Linked DNA regions of Homo sapiens: all the other regions are linked to region 2. Evidence: promoter capture Hi-C in human tissues and cell types (Jung and others, 2019). All regions are on one chromosome and are shown on one strand. Each heading gives the region's core, a stretch centred on a gene start or on the middle of the fragment in contact. The rest is flanking DNA. Distances are from core to core; before and after follow the strand shown. Region 1 overlaps CTTNBP2 (cortactin binding protein 2). Region 2 holds the start of ASZ1 (ankyrin repeat, SAM and basic leucine zipper domain containing 1). Region 3 has its middle 53 kb from the start of CTTNBP2.

Region 1 (4,952 bases), core at 2,062-4,561, 310 kb before region 2:
GTCAAATATTCCTTAGTGTAAGGTATGGAATTGGGTTAGTAAGACAGATACTTTTTAAAATTGCAAATGATTGTAAGCAGTAAAGCAGAAAAGAAAATTCATACAGAAGGATTTTTATTCTGTATGTAGCTTAGTAACTTGTAAGTATCAATATCTTTCTTCACTTTTTAATAAGAAAACTATGATACAAATACAAGGTTCATCTGCTAAGGCCTTGACTGCAGTTGCCCAAGTTAGCAAGGTGAGCATAATCACTTCCTGTCTGCCTCACTCCCCATATCTAGGCAGTCCCTAAGCTCTGTGGAATCTGCTTCCTCTATCTCCTCCTCCTGCTCTCCATTCCCCCATCACCTATTATTTCTTGTTCAAGGCATTGTAGAGGCCTCATCATTAACCTTTCATATTTCCTCTGGTCTCACTCCCTCCATGGGCCCTCCACAAGGCATCTGGGGGCTCACTGGAGGATAAAAAACCATTCAGACAGTTCCCTGCTGTTATACTCCCAAGGCTCCAGAATGAAAGCTAAAGCTCTCAGAATCTACATCAGGAACATTGTGGACTGGCCTCTCATCCTTGTCCTGCTGCAGTTCACCCTCATCTCCTAAAACCCACTCTACCTCCACTGCCGTCTTCTCAGTAGGACCCATGCTGTGGGCTGGAGGCTGATGAAGACATAGAGGAGAATTAGAATCAACAAGGACACCAGAGACTTCAGAGCAGTGCAGGGGAACTCCTATGAGCCACAGGGAAGGATCCATCGACAGGTGTGGTGTCAGTTCTTTCACTGTGCAGAAAGCATGCAGCAGGGAATGATCCTTCAGTCAAGAGGCGATGGATGAGGCCACAGGGTAGAGAAGTCAGAGATCTGGATGGAGGAAAGGGGTTTTCTAGGCTATTCCACTCAAACGTTTAGAATAATGAGCATATAGGGATTATCTACCAGCTACTCTCTTTTTTTACCAAGAAATTAAAGTGATCAAATAGTAAGTACCACAACTGAAGAGTACACTGATTCCTGAGGTATTCTACACGTACTCCTGATGGTTAACCTTATTTTCTCTAAAGAGAGAGCCTTAAACTATGTGGGTTGAATGGGGTGAGAATGCTGAACTTCTGTCTTCCACTGAGCACAGCACACATTGCCTTATGTGTTCCTCTCTATGACGCCGTAGAAGAAAGCCAGGGAACAGGCACAGAAAAGAGTTAAAGAGGGTGTGAGCAAAAAGACAGAAATGAAGAGTAGCAAAAGTATTTTAAATAATTAGGTTTAAGAATCTAAAACTTAAATGGAGATTAAAATGGTGCCAATGAAGAAAAGAATAGAGAACAAAAGACCATTTCAAAGAAAATGACACAGCACTTATTCTAGCATAAATTACTTTGTGTTTATTTTAAAATAACATTTTCTTCTCATATTCCCTTTCTTGAGAGAGGGTCATGTCATATGACTCTGTTATTTGGTAAGGAGGCTGTGAATGCATATTAGAATTAGGTCAAATTTCTCCTCAGTATAAAGTATGGACTTGGGTTAGCAAGATGATACTTTTTAAAATTACAGTGACTGTAAACAGTAAAACAGAAAAAAAAATTAAACACTAGATGGGTATTTTAAAGTAATACTTTGAATTTTTCAAGGGAACTTTCCTTTGTAAAAGTAATGAGGATAGGGTTGCTGTTACAATAGGAGACTATGACAATTGGAGTCTCCAGAAATGAGTTTACCTCCTTGGGCCCTGCATTCCTGGGACTCTTTAAAGGCTTGCCCTGTGCTTCCCACTTGGCCTCTCAGAACATCGTTCCTCCAGAGCCGGGGTTTAAGGGCACATGGAAAAGAGGGGTTGTTTTCTGTCCTGAAAGGGGAGATAATAGACTTGGAGTCACTCACCTACGACACAAAGCAGTTTGGGTTTAGCTAGAAATGCGATATGCTAATTATTTTTAAACTGATAAGTTTGGCTGCAGAATTCACTCTCTGGGACTTTTAATATAAGGATGTGCAAAACTGGGATGTAGCCCTGAGCCTCACAAAGACAGTGTCCAGTTAAAATTACCAACCTGCAGGAGAGGAGCAGGGCTGAGAGAGCCTATAAAGTTGGAAGAAAAAGGTCAAAAAGAGCAGACTGGTTTTAGAAATAGCGTTTTGAAGTGGCACAGAGCAAAGGGAATTCAAATGGCTGACTTTTTGGCCGAAGGTAAAAAGGAACCTGCAGCTGTAACATGGGGTGTGTGGCCTTCTTTCACCTCTCCATAAGCCCTGATCAGAGACTGGTTGATCCTTGAAACTGTAATGAGTTCCTGCTTCTGTGGCTGGTTAATATTTTAGACCTGAAACTACGCAGAATAACCTGAACTAGACACGTACTATTTCTCAACTAAAATAAAATTAACCTTTGCCCCACCTTGACTAAGGATGTGGAACTTAAGTGGTCAGATGGAAAAGTAGGTACTAATGAAAAACTGAGGCAATGAGGCAAGCGAATGAAGACAAAGCTTTCCCCCAAAGAAAGCTGTGCTGTTTGACCCTTGATTGCTACTTCATGGGAGACCAAGATAAAGATGAAGTGGAAAGATAACCCAATGGTTATGTATAGCAGCCCTTCCCCCTTTTTGTCTAGGGCACAAACTGTCCATTGAATGTGAGATGTATTAGGTCACTAGCAATATAGTATTTGCTTGAGGACCCAGGAGAATGAGCATATTGCCTCTTTCCAAGAGACCCCAGCATGCCTGAAAACTCATTTATTTTATCTCCAGCCTGGATCCTTCCTCAATGCCCTCACCCTCATGCCCCACCACCTGCTGCACATCAGAGAAGCAATGCTTCACTCATCAAACACATCAAGCCTGAAACATAACCCATCACCACCACCTCCTCCCCAAGTACATGCTTGGTCACATCTGCTCTCTGCCTCCATTAACTGCTCAGCCTCTTCTCTGGTGGAAACCTAGAGTTGTCTCCAGTATTTCCTCTCTGCCCCTCTTTCAATAAGTCAGCCACTGAGATTTACTGATTCGGTCTCAAAATGCCTTTTCATTCTGTGCGTTGGTCCTGGGTGAGGCTCCCATCATCTCTTTCCTTAACCATAGCAGTAAGAGTCTAGGAGGTGTGTTCTCCTATTTCTTTCCTCCTCAGCCAATTCTCTGCACCATGAAGATCTCAGAGCAGGAGTCAAATCCTGTTTATCCCCCTATTTAAAGACTTCCACTGATTCCCAGAACCAGTAGCTCCCTCCCAACAAGACATTCTGAGTCTTCTACTTTTCATTTTTGGCTTGGTCCTGAGGCTTCATATCAGCAAATCTCGCCCCTGATTGCACATTCCAATCACTAGGGAGCTTTTACAAAATGCCAGTGCCCCAGGCCCAGCACAGTGCAATTAAATCAGAAGCGCTGAGAATCACTGGGGATGGGTCCAGCGATTCCTGCAGCTCAGGATGAAGATGCAGCCTGCCTTCCGCAGCTGTGACTGCTGGGCGCCCTGCCACTCCTGTGGCACCACCCCAAGTTCCCAGCCCTGGCCCGACTTGCTATATGGATCAGCTTTTAGCTCACCATGATGACGCTTTTATAACTATTCTGACCTTGATCTGACGCCGTATTCCCTTCTAGAATTGAATCCTGCCCAGCTCCATTCTTCGGCCAGTGCCATTTCTTAAACTTAGTTTAAAATGCTGGCCAGGTGCAGTGGCTCACACCTGTAATCCCAGCACTTTGGGAGGGTGAGGTGGGTGGATCACGAAGTCAGGACTTTGAGACCAGCCTGACCAACATGGTTACTCCCATCTCTATTAAAAATACAAAAAAAAATTTTGTATTTGGCATGGTGGTGTGCACCTGTAATCCCAGCTACTCAGGAGGCTGAGGCGGGAAAATCACTTGAACCCGGGAGGTGGAGGTTGCAGTGAGCCGAGATCACGCCACTGCACTCCAGCCTGGGCAACAGAGCAAGACTCCATCTCCAAAAAATAAATAAAATGCTACACACCCCCAGTTAGAATGAGTCACTTCTGGCATGCCATAGCACTCAGCATCCAGTACCTGTAGCAAAGAGGCATTGGATAAACATTTGTTGAAATGCAAGGAAATATTCCTTCCTTCAGATGCATTCTGGCTGGCTGCAGCAGCTTCAGAGCCACTTAAACTGGCGATGCACTTAACACAAATCAGGGAAAAGCTGGAGACCTTCAGTCCTCAGTTACAGAAAACCAGATACATAAACCATCAATCCTGTGTGTTTTTTTAATCGCTGAATTAAAAATGTTTGTTAGTTTTCCATTGTTGTTTTCACCAACTACGGATTTCTCATACTTCCACAATACATCTATTTCTGAAATAACATTTGAACCCAAAGAAACATAGAATTTTAGCATTCTTTACCAAACAGCTGTGTTGAAAGGGATCTGACACACACTAGATGCTAGTGTTAGCAGCCCTCCACAAGTACAACTAGATTGAGAGGTGGCTGTGATTGTTTCTAGCCTTCTAGATTTTAAATTTTCATAGCATCCAGAAGAGCCATTTCTGTCTGAGAAGAGATTCATTTACAGTGTTCAAGGAGTTCTTTTGAAAATGAAAATGCATTGTGTCTATAGTAACAAGAAGGAATTGAGAATATACTATCATGAATATTTGTAAAAAGTAGACTATTTGGTAATGTTACTCTCAAGTATCCTAAACTGGTTTCTTTTCAAGGTTAATTTGACTAAAACTGTGGCATCTTAGAATCTTCAAGAAACTAAAGTGATTTTATTTTGTAATTGATTAGTATATGGGAAGTGCCATATAGAATACATTTTAACTAAACTATTAATAGTTTCTGCTTAGTAGATGCCAGGTACTGTTTTAAGTATGTTTTGTGCCCTTATTCATTTCCTATATATAATATTAATTTTTCATTTACTTTTCCAGCTTTCATTTTGGGTTGACAGAAAGTCAGTCCTTCCCATCCTGAG
Region 2 (4,572 bases), core at 1,281-3,780:
ATTATGTATTTGGAATTAATTTTGTAAAAGGCATGAGACTTAGGTTGAAGTTCATTTTTTACCTAAAGATATTCACCTGCTTCACAACTATTTGTTGAAAAGACTATCCTTCCTCCATTGAATTGCTCTTGCACCTTTATCAAAAATTAGTTTGTCATACTATATGTACTTGTGTGGTGCTATGTCTAGGTTTTCTATTCTGTTCTATTGGTCTATATCAAAAAATCCTGAAATCAAGGCTACACATGAGTCTTGAAATCAAGGAGAGCAATTCTTCCTTCTTTATTCTTCTTTTTCAGAATTGTTTTAACTATTTTACTTCCTTTGCCTTTCCACATACAATTTGGAATAATCTTATCCATATTTATAAAAAAAATCACTTGGTAAATCCTAAGGTTTTTAAAAACCAATTGTATGTGGATAACTCCCACATTTATATTTCCAAGACCAGGCTTCCTCAAGGTCCACACATGAATATCCAACTAACCACTTAACAGCTACACTTGGCTGCTTGGTTTTGAATATGTTAATTTGGGGATGCCTATTAAATCTTCACGTTTATCCACTGGTCTTCCCCCATCTCAGTAAATGCAATGACTACTTAGCCAGTTGCTCAAACCAAAAACCTTCTCTACAATAGACCTAGAGTGTCTTTAAATACATACACACATCAGAACATGTCTTTCATTAGCTTAAAAACATTTCACTGTTCAATTGCTTTCAGTAAAATCCAGATTCCTACTTAAGGCCCACAAGGACCTCTCATCACACACGCCTATCCTTACGAAGCTGTAGCCTCAGGCCTTCTTTCTGGTCCAAGCAGGACAAGAACTAAGGTAAGTGAGGTGACCCAGGAGCAAAATTTAAAAAGGCACTCACTGAATTTGCAGGACCCTGACAGTACTTCCTTAAACTTTGCTTCTTAGGGGACTCACTTGCCCCAGCCTCACTTGCCCCATCCTGGTCCTGAGTTGCTTTTTTCTTGCCTTAGGACCTTGGCACTATTCCTGTCCACTGCCAGGAAAGCTCTATTCTCCCACTCTTATATGGCTTGTTATTTACGACTCTGCACAGTTCTGACTATCCTATCTAAAATCTACCTCTTACATTGAGAAAGACCTTATTCTAAGCCTATTACTTCATTTAGTCCTCATAACAATTCTATTTGGTGGGTACTATCATCACCTCCATTCTACAGATAAGTTAGCTGGTACCCAGATAGATGCTAAGTAAATTGCCTAAGGGCACACAGCTACAGCTAGTGATTCCCCCAGGAAACACAAAAGTGGTTTGATTCCAGAAACAGAGCACACTTGTTTCTTTTGAAGCACTTACAATCTGCAATAGTGTTTTTGTTTCCTTGCATATTGTCTATCTCTACTTATTAAAGTGAGCTCCATAAGGCTCCATGGTTTATCTTTGACGTTGTCTCCCCAAACCTAGTAGCACTTGGCTGTGCTAAGTAATCCCTAGCATTTATTGAATGAATGCATTTAGAAAGACAGATGTGGCACGCAAATAGCTAAACTACTTAAAAATACTTACCTCTGAGCCTCTAAAGTAAATAATTTCAAAATCTTTTATCAGAGAATCTGCAAGAAAAAAACCGCAAAAGCTTTCAAATAATAGTGCATGGCTATTATCTTGAGATACATATAATATGCCCTGTTTCTTGGTGGATCTACTTTTCTGTGGTGGCAAAGAAAATCACTGTGTTACCAACATCTAGAAGTTCTACCATCTAGAACCATGTAGAAAGGTGAGTTCGAGCTTGGGCCACTTCCACCTGGAGTTGTTTGTATTATTTGCTCTCTGGACGTTTAAGTCATTTCTTTCTTTCTGGCTCTTTGGATCCACTGTACCCGGAAACCCCCTCCTTTCATATTTTCCTCTAGGACATCTACACTTCATAGCGGGGAAGTGTTTTGATGGTCTGAAGCTTCTAAATCTAAGGTGAGATCTAAGATCACATGAAATGTAAAGGAAGAATTCTTTGGGGCAGTATTTTCTCCTGGCTCCTTCGTCGGCTCCTACTTGCGTAAGGGCTTCTTGAATGTCTGAGTGGTGCTCCTGAGAGAGGTGTTACTACGAAGAGTCCGTCTCCCAGGGGATACAGATTTAACAGACGTTTGGCAGGGGGCAGATGAAAAGGATGGCGGGGAAAGTCTAGTCTTACTTGCCGTTAAATCCTAGTGTGCTCCTGCCACAAGTAAGGCATTCCTTGCAGAGCAAGAATTTCATCATTTCATCAAGCAAATACTTTAAAGAGGTCGAAAGGTAAGTCCCTGAGAGGAACTGGAAGTGCCAGCAGAAGCCTGGCGCACGAACTTCGTCACCAGTGTCAGACACGCCAGGTTTTCACCTCAAGAAGCCTCAAGGTTAGGGAGGGACGGGGCAGGGAGGAGAGCAGCGCGCCGCTGTGCGCCTGCGCTGGAGGGCTCCAGACTGGAGCGCTTCCACGGCGCTCCTTCCCGCGCATCTCTACGTACGCCCCACCCCGGTGCGCATGCGCCCGGAGAGCTGAAGGGCGCGCGGTGCCGACAGGGAGCTTCCTTGGCTGGCATGGCGGCGAGCGCGCTGCGAGGCCTGCCAGTGGCTGGCGGAGGCGAGAGTAGCGAGAGCGAGGATGATGGCTGGGAGATTGGGTATCTCGACCGGACGTCTCAGGTAGCGGAGGAGGCCTTGTCTTGACCACACCTGGTTTCAGCCTCCCCTGGCCCTCGAAGGCGAGGCCCAGCCTCGTGAAACCTCCTACTCCCTCACGTGTATTTCCCTTTTACCCAGTGGAAATACGGGAGTTTGTACTTAAGCAAACCCGCACAAATTTCCTCGTGTTCCCTCCCCAACTGTGGTTACCACCAAATACGCTTCTTTAGGTCATCGTAACTCCTCAGTTGGGTTTGGATCCATCATTACCTATTCCCTTGAAAGATAATTTTCGACACGAATTCTTTTCAAACTTTGTATCTTAGTCAAAATAAAGCCAAGAAAAAAAACCTGTGTACTTAACCAAACATTATTGTTTCCTGATGAGGTGGAAACAAAAATATATATAACAAGAATTTTTTAAAATGTTTACTTTTCTAGAAATTGAAAAGGCTATTACCCATTGAAGAAAAGAAAGAAAAATTTAAGAAAGCAATGACCATCGGAGATGTTTCATTGGTCCAGGAGCTCCTAGATTCTGGTGAGAGATAAGGGACAGTTTCATCTGAACACAGCTGTCTTAAGTTCGCAAGGATTCTTTATTTTTAAAAGGTTTATGTTGCTTTTCTAATGGAAACGCAACAAATGTTAATGTATCATCCTGCATAATCTTCGTTGACTGAGTCCAGTCTGCCTTATTTTCTTCCTCTCTGCTTGCATTTGGAATGCCACCCTGTTTATCTTCCATCAGTTCTTCCCCCTCCTTCAAGCAAGAGGCCTACTCTAATCCTATCCCACTCTGATCATTCTTAATTCTCTCTTCATTTACTCTGCTGTAATGTTGTTTCTTTTTTCTTTTCTTTTTCTTTTTTTTTTTTTTTTTTTTTTGAGATGTTATCTTGCTCTGTGGCCCAGGCTGGAGTGCAGTGGCGCGATCTTGGCTCACTGCAATCTCCACCTTCGGGTTCAAGCGATTCTCCTGCCTCACCCTCCTGAGTAGCTGGGACTACAAGCGCGTGACACCACGCCCGGCTAATTTTTTTTTTTTTTTGTATTTTTAATAGAGAGAGGGTTTCACCGTGTTAGCCAGGATAGTCTCGATCCTCTGACCTTGTGATCCGCCTGTCTCGGCCTCCCAAAGTGCTGGGATTACAGGCATGAGCCACCGTGCCCTGCCTGTTGTATGTTTCTTAAGAAATGGTTCTACATTTTAGTTCTTTCTCGTTACAGTTTTTTGTTTTGTACTGGTGGAATGAGGCCTGAGCTAGGAATCAGAATAAATATATGGATAATTTCTTCCAGTTTATTGCCCACTCTGGTTTCTTGGAAGAGGCATTAAAACTTTGAGAGCATCAGATTTCATTTTTGGGGGGTTGAAGGAAGGGGATGGAGTGTCTCTCTCTAGCCCTGCTGGAGTGCAGTGGCACCATCTTCGCTCACTGCAACCTCCATCTGGGGGCCGGGATTCAAGTGATTCTCCCACCTCAGCCTCCGGAGTAGCCGGGACTAAAAGCACCGGTCACCAAGCCCAGCTAATTTTGGTAATTTTAGTAGACACGGGGGTTTCACCATGTCGGCCAGGCTGGTCTTGAACTACTGACCTCAAGTAATCACCCACCTCGGCCTCCCAAAGTGCTGAGATTACAAGCAAGAGCCACCGCCCCCAGCCAGAGAGCATCAGTTTCTTTATGTAAAGCATCATAATTCTGTCCTGGGCTTCATGAATTTTTTGTGTATTAAATAAAAAAAAAACTTTAAATTACCTTCACATAGAAATGTAAATTATTGATTATAATGATTGAAATTACTGGCCGGGCGCGGTGGCTCACGCCTGTAATCCCAGCACTTTGGGAGTCCAAGGCGGGCGGATCACGAGGTCAGGAGATCGAGACCATCCTGGCTAACACAGTGAAACCCCGTCTCTAC
Region 3 (4,645 bases), core at 502-3,001, 500 kb before region 2:
TTACAGAAACCTTTCTTCTTTTGGAGAGCTCCTCATTCTCCACTCTAGTCATAAGGATTTTTTTTAAGCTGTCAGTCACAGAACCCCACTCTGTCCTACACTAGACCAATTATGTTACCTCGCCTCATTAATGGGCCATCTGATTGACCTGAAAATGGGCAGTCAGAGTTTTCTCCAAATAGTTTTTTGAACTGGAGCTGGAGTAGACAGGCAGAGCTTGTTGGGAAGATGAAGAGCTCTCTCCTCTCTGATAAAGCTGAGAATGTGATTCTAGACAGGCTAGCAGTCATGTGCCCAGGCACAGTGAGAAATCAGAAGTGTACAGTAATGAAACCATCTCACAGAAGCAGGGGTGGTTCTTCAGGAATTCTTTCAGTTCTAAGAGCCACCCTAATATGCTTTAATACTATGCTGTTTAATATCGTAGCCAATGGCTACAAGCAGCTACTGAGCACTTGAAATATGACTAGTTCAAATTAAATTGTTCTGTATACGTAAAATATCACTCGATTTTAAAGACAGTATGAAAAAAGGATGTAAAATGTCTAGTTATTATAATGAACATATATCGAGATTATATTTTTGATATACTATTTAAATAAACTAAATTTTAAGATTAATTCCACCTATTACTTTTTATTTTTTTATGTGGCTTCTGGAAATTTTCATATTACATATGAGTCTCAAATTTTATTTCTATTGAAACAGCACTACTCTCTGGTGAACTTGTGTTTTTTGTTTTTCTGTTTCTGTATTTGTTTAGCTACTTTGGATGGGGTTTCTGCCATTGGCAACCAACGGAGCCCTAATTGATGCCATAATTGGTAACAGGACCACAGGCATTGCTGGGGACAGATCCAAAATGTGGAATTGTCTATGTTCAGGTGTAAATAGGACAAGCAGGTTTCCTCCACTCTGAATTAGAGAACTCAGTAGCAAAGCAATTAGTTAATCATTGTTCATTGTTTATTGTTATTCGGATCCTGTGCCTATTCCCACTGAGTTTAGAACTTTATGGGACTTGGTAGAAAGAAAACAGGAATTTGGAAGTATTGGTTACTTCTTGCCAACAATAAGTATGGCTTCAATAAGATGTTGCAACAACAACAACAATAACAATAGCAACAACAACAAATGGACCAAGCAGAGCCATCTAAAAGTGGAGCAGGAGAAAGACACAGCTCTACTCAAAAGGCCATTTTCTGCTACTGGACATGCTCTGGATTTCAAAAGACAACTCACTGCACCCAATTCCAGTAAATGTTCAACCAGAATGGAGAAACCAGATTCCCTAGATGTTTCCAAAGCACTTGTCCCTGGCAAACATCATTCTCCTTTCCCCAGATTATAAAGCATATTGGGAGTACCTGGGGCAGAGGGTCCCTTAACCTTGCCTCATCCCCAATGCCATCATGCAGACAGAGACCAAATCAAGTCCCATAACGATGGGTAGCACCACTGAAGAGTCACCAAGAAACCAAAACCATGAAGGGGCAGAGGCCCAGATTCAAACATCTTGCTCTGACATCAGTTACTAGCAAAAGGAATTCCTAAACAAGCAAACCACTGGGATTTTAAGGAAGTTCCATTGTCACCATCATCACTCCCAAACAAATAAACAAAACACAAAACAAGTCTGGCTGAAAGAGATACAAGATAACTCATAACTCATTGTTTAGGGCAATTTTTGAACCTCTATGTCACTGCCAACAGGAAATGCACAGCTAAGAAGTTGTCAGTCCTATGGCAAAGATGCCTGGCTGTCCACCAGAATTGCTTCCCTTCTTCAGGCATACCTCTAGTCTCCCTTACACTTAGTTGTGGTCCTTTGACTATCTTCAATGGCATATGAGAAGAAGCAATGTCTCCCTCTTCCAATCCTAGCCCATGAAAACTTTGCACATATTCTTCCTCATGCTCTTCTCTCTTCTAGTTAACAGGACTTGAGAAGATCACCAGGTCAACCTTGGAAATCATGCGTTGAAGGTGGTAAATACTACAGCCTTCCTGGACTATGATGTAAGCAAGATATAAACTTCTATTTTGTTGAACATTTACATGTTTGCTGTCACAGCCCAACCAAATATATCTCCCAATACATAAATCCTCCCAAACATCCTTGATGACCAAATCATGTAGGACGCTGAGCAAATTAAACCTTTTTGGTAGATAACAGTCAAGCCAACCCAAAGTGACTAACCTACTGGATTATTTATTTCCATAAAGGAAAGTCTGCAAATAGAGGTAAATTACTTACCTAGCAAGATAAAGATAGTGTCAGTAGGGGCTGCTTCTCGGGCTCCTAATCCTAATTTTAATTTTTTTTCCCATGGGTTACTGGGGAGTAGGTGGAGTTTGGTTACATGAGTAAGTTAGTGGTGATTTGTGAGATTTTGGTGCACCCATCACCCAAGCATTATACACTGCACCTAATTTGTAGTCTTTTATCCCTCACCCCTTTTCCACCCTTCCCTCCTGAGTCCCCAAGGTTCATTGTGTCATTCTTACACCTTTGCATCCTCATGGCTTAGCTCCCACTTATGAGTGAGAACATACGATGTTTGGTTTTCCATATCAGAGATACTTCACTTAGAATAATAGTGTCCAGTCTCATCTAGGTCACTGCGAATGCCATTAATTCATTCCTTTTTATGGCTGAGGAGTATTCTATCATATATATATATATATAATATATATATATATATATATATCAGATATATATACCACAGTTTCTTTATCTGCTCATTGATTGGTGGGCATTTGGGTTGGTTCCACATTTTTGCAATTGCAAATGTGCTGCCATAAACATACATGTGCAATTATCTTTTTTGTATAATGACTTCTTTTCCTCTGGGTAGATACCCAGTAGTGATATCACTGGATCAAATGACAGTACTACTTTTAGGTGAGGAATCTCCATACTGTTTTCCATAGTGGTTGTATTAGTTTACATTCCCACAAGCTGTGTAGAAGTGTTCCTTTTTCACTGCATCCACACCAGCATCAATTATTTTTTTATTTTTTGACTATGGCCATTCTTGCAGGAGTAAAGTGGTATCGCATTGTGGTTTTGATTTGCATTTCCCTGATCACTAGTGATGTTGAGCATTTTTTCATATGTTTGTTGGACATTTGTATATCTTCTTTTAAGAATTGTCTATTCCTGTCCTTAGCCCAATTTTTGATGTAATTGTTTTTTCTTGCTCATTTGTTTGAGTTTGTTGTAGATTCTGGATATTAGTCCTTTTTCAGATGTATAGATTGTGAAGATTTTCTCTGGCTCTGTGGGTTGTCTGTTTACTCTGCTGACTGTTCCTTTTGCCATGCAAAAGCTCTTCAGTTTAATTAAGTCCAAGCTATTTATCTTTGTTTCTATTGAATTTGCTTTTGGGTTCTTGGTCATGAAATCCTTGCCTAGGGCAATGCCTAGAAGAGTTTTTCCAATGTTATCTTCTGGAATTTTTATAGTTTCAGGTTTTAGATTTAAATCCTTGATCCATCTTGAGTAGATTTTTGTATAAGGTGAGAGATGAGGATCCGGTTTCATTCTTCTACACATGGCTTGCCAATTATCCCAGCACTATTTGTTGAATAGGTGGCCTTTCCCCACTTTGTTTTCATTTGCTTTGTCGAAGATCAGTTGGCTGTAAGTAGTTGGGTTTATTTCTGAGTTCTCGATTCTGTTCCATTGGTCTATGTGCCTATTTTTATACCAGTACCATGCTGTTTTGGTGACTATGGTCTTATACTATAATTTGAAATCAGATAATGTGATCCCTCCAAATTTGTTCTTTTTGTTTAGTCTTGCTTTGGCTATGCAGGCTCTTTTTTGGCTCCATGTGAATTTTAAGATTGTTTTTTCCAATTCCGTGAAGAATGGTGGTGGTATTTTTATGGGAATTGCATTAAATTTGTAGATTGCTTTTGGCAGTATGATCAGTTTCACAATATTGATTCTATCCATCCATGAGCATGGAATGCATTTTCATTTGTTTGTGTCATCTGTAATTTCTTTCAGCAGTGTTTTGTAGTTTTCCTTGTAGAGGTCTTTCACTTCCTTGGTTAGGTATATTCCTAAGAATTTTCTTTTCTTTTCTTTCTTTTTTTTTTTTTTTTTTTGCAGGCATTGTAAAAGGGGTTGAGTTCTTGATTTGATTCTCACCTTGATTGCCGTTAGTCTATAGAAGAGCTACTAATCTGTGTACATTAATTTTGTATCCGGAAACTTTGCCGAATTCATTCATCAGTTCTAGGAGCTTTTTGGAGGAGTCTTTAGGGTTTTCTAGGTATACAATCATATTATCAGCAAACAGAAACAGTTTGACTTCCTCTTTACCAATTCGGATGCCCTTTATTTCTTTCTCTTGTCTGATTACTCTGGCTAGGGCTTCCAGTACGATGTAGAACAGAAGTGCTGAGAGTGGGCATAGATGGCTTTTATTACATTGAGGTCTGTCCCTTGTATGCTGATTTTGCCAAGAGTTTTATTTATTTTATTTATTTTATTTTATTATTATTATACTTTAAGTTTTAGGGTACATGTTCACAACGTGCAGGTTTGTTACATATGTATACATGTGTCATGTTGGTGTGCTGCACCCATTAACTCATCATTTAGCATTAGGTATATCTCCTAATGCTCTCC

The links. Contacts are between HindIII fragments. The study calls those that stand out against the background at their distance.
Region 1: a contact is called between a fragment that was not itself captured here and the fragment with the promoter of ASZ1 in region 2, in 1 of the 25 tissues and cell types used here (mesenchymal stem cells).
Region 3: a contact is called between a fragment that was not itself captured here and the fragment with the promoter of ASZ1 in region 2, in 2 of the 25 tissues and cell types used here (dorsolateral prefrontal cortex and mesenchymal stem cells).

What each region holds. Positions count from the first base shown.
Region 1 is chr7:117,736,599-117,741,550 of GRCh38, reverse strand. All of the region lies in intron 14 of CTTNBP2 (cortactin binding protein 2), which reads left to right. Among named protein-coding and RNA genes, the nearest start is that of CFTR-AS2, 92 kb to the right of the region's middle. The HindIII fragment of the contact is 5,792 bases long and covers 416-4,952 here.
Region 2 is chr7:117,425,451-117,430,022 of GRCh38, reverse strand. It overlaps ASZ1 (ankyrin repeat, SAM and basic leucine zipper domain containing 1), which reads left to right and starts at 2,530. Exons shown (of 13, transcript NM_130768.3): 1 at 2,530-2,667; 2 at 3,088-3,187. The coding sequence starts at 2,563. The HindIII fragment of the contact is 3,572 bases long and covers 1-3,483 here.
Region 3 is chr7:117,924,111-117,928,755 of GRCh38, reverse strand. No RefSeq gene overlaps it. Among named protein-coding and RNA genes, the nearest start is that of CTTNBP2, 53 kb to the right of the region's middle. The HindIII fragment of the contact is 4,374 bases long and covers 1-3,938 here.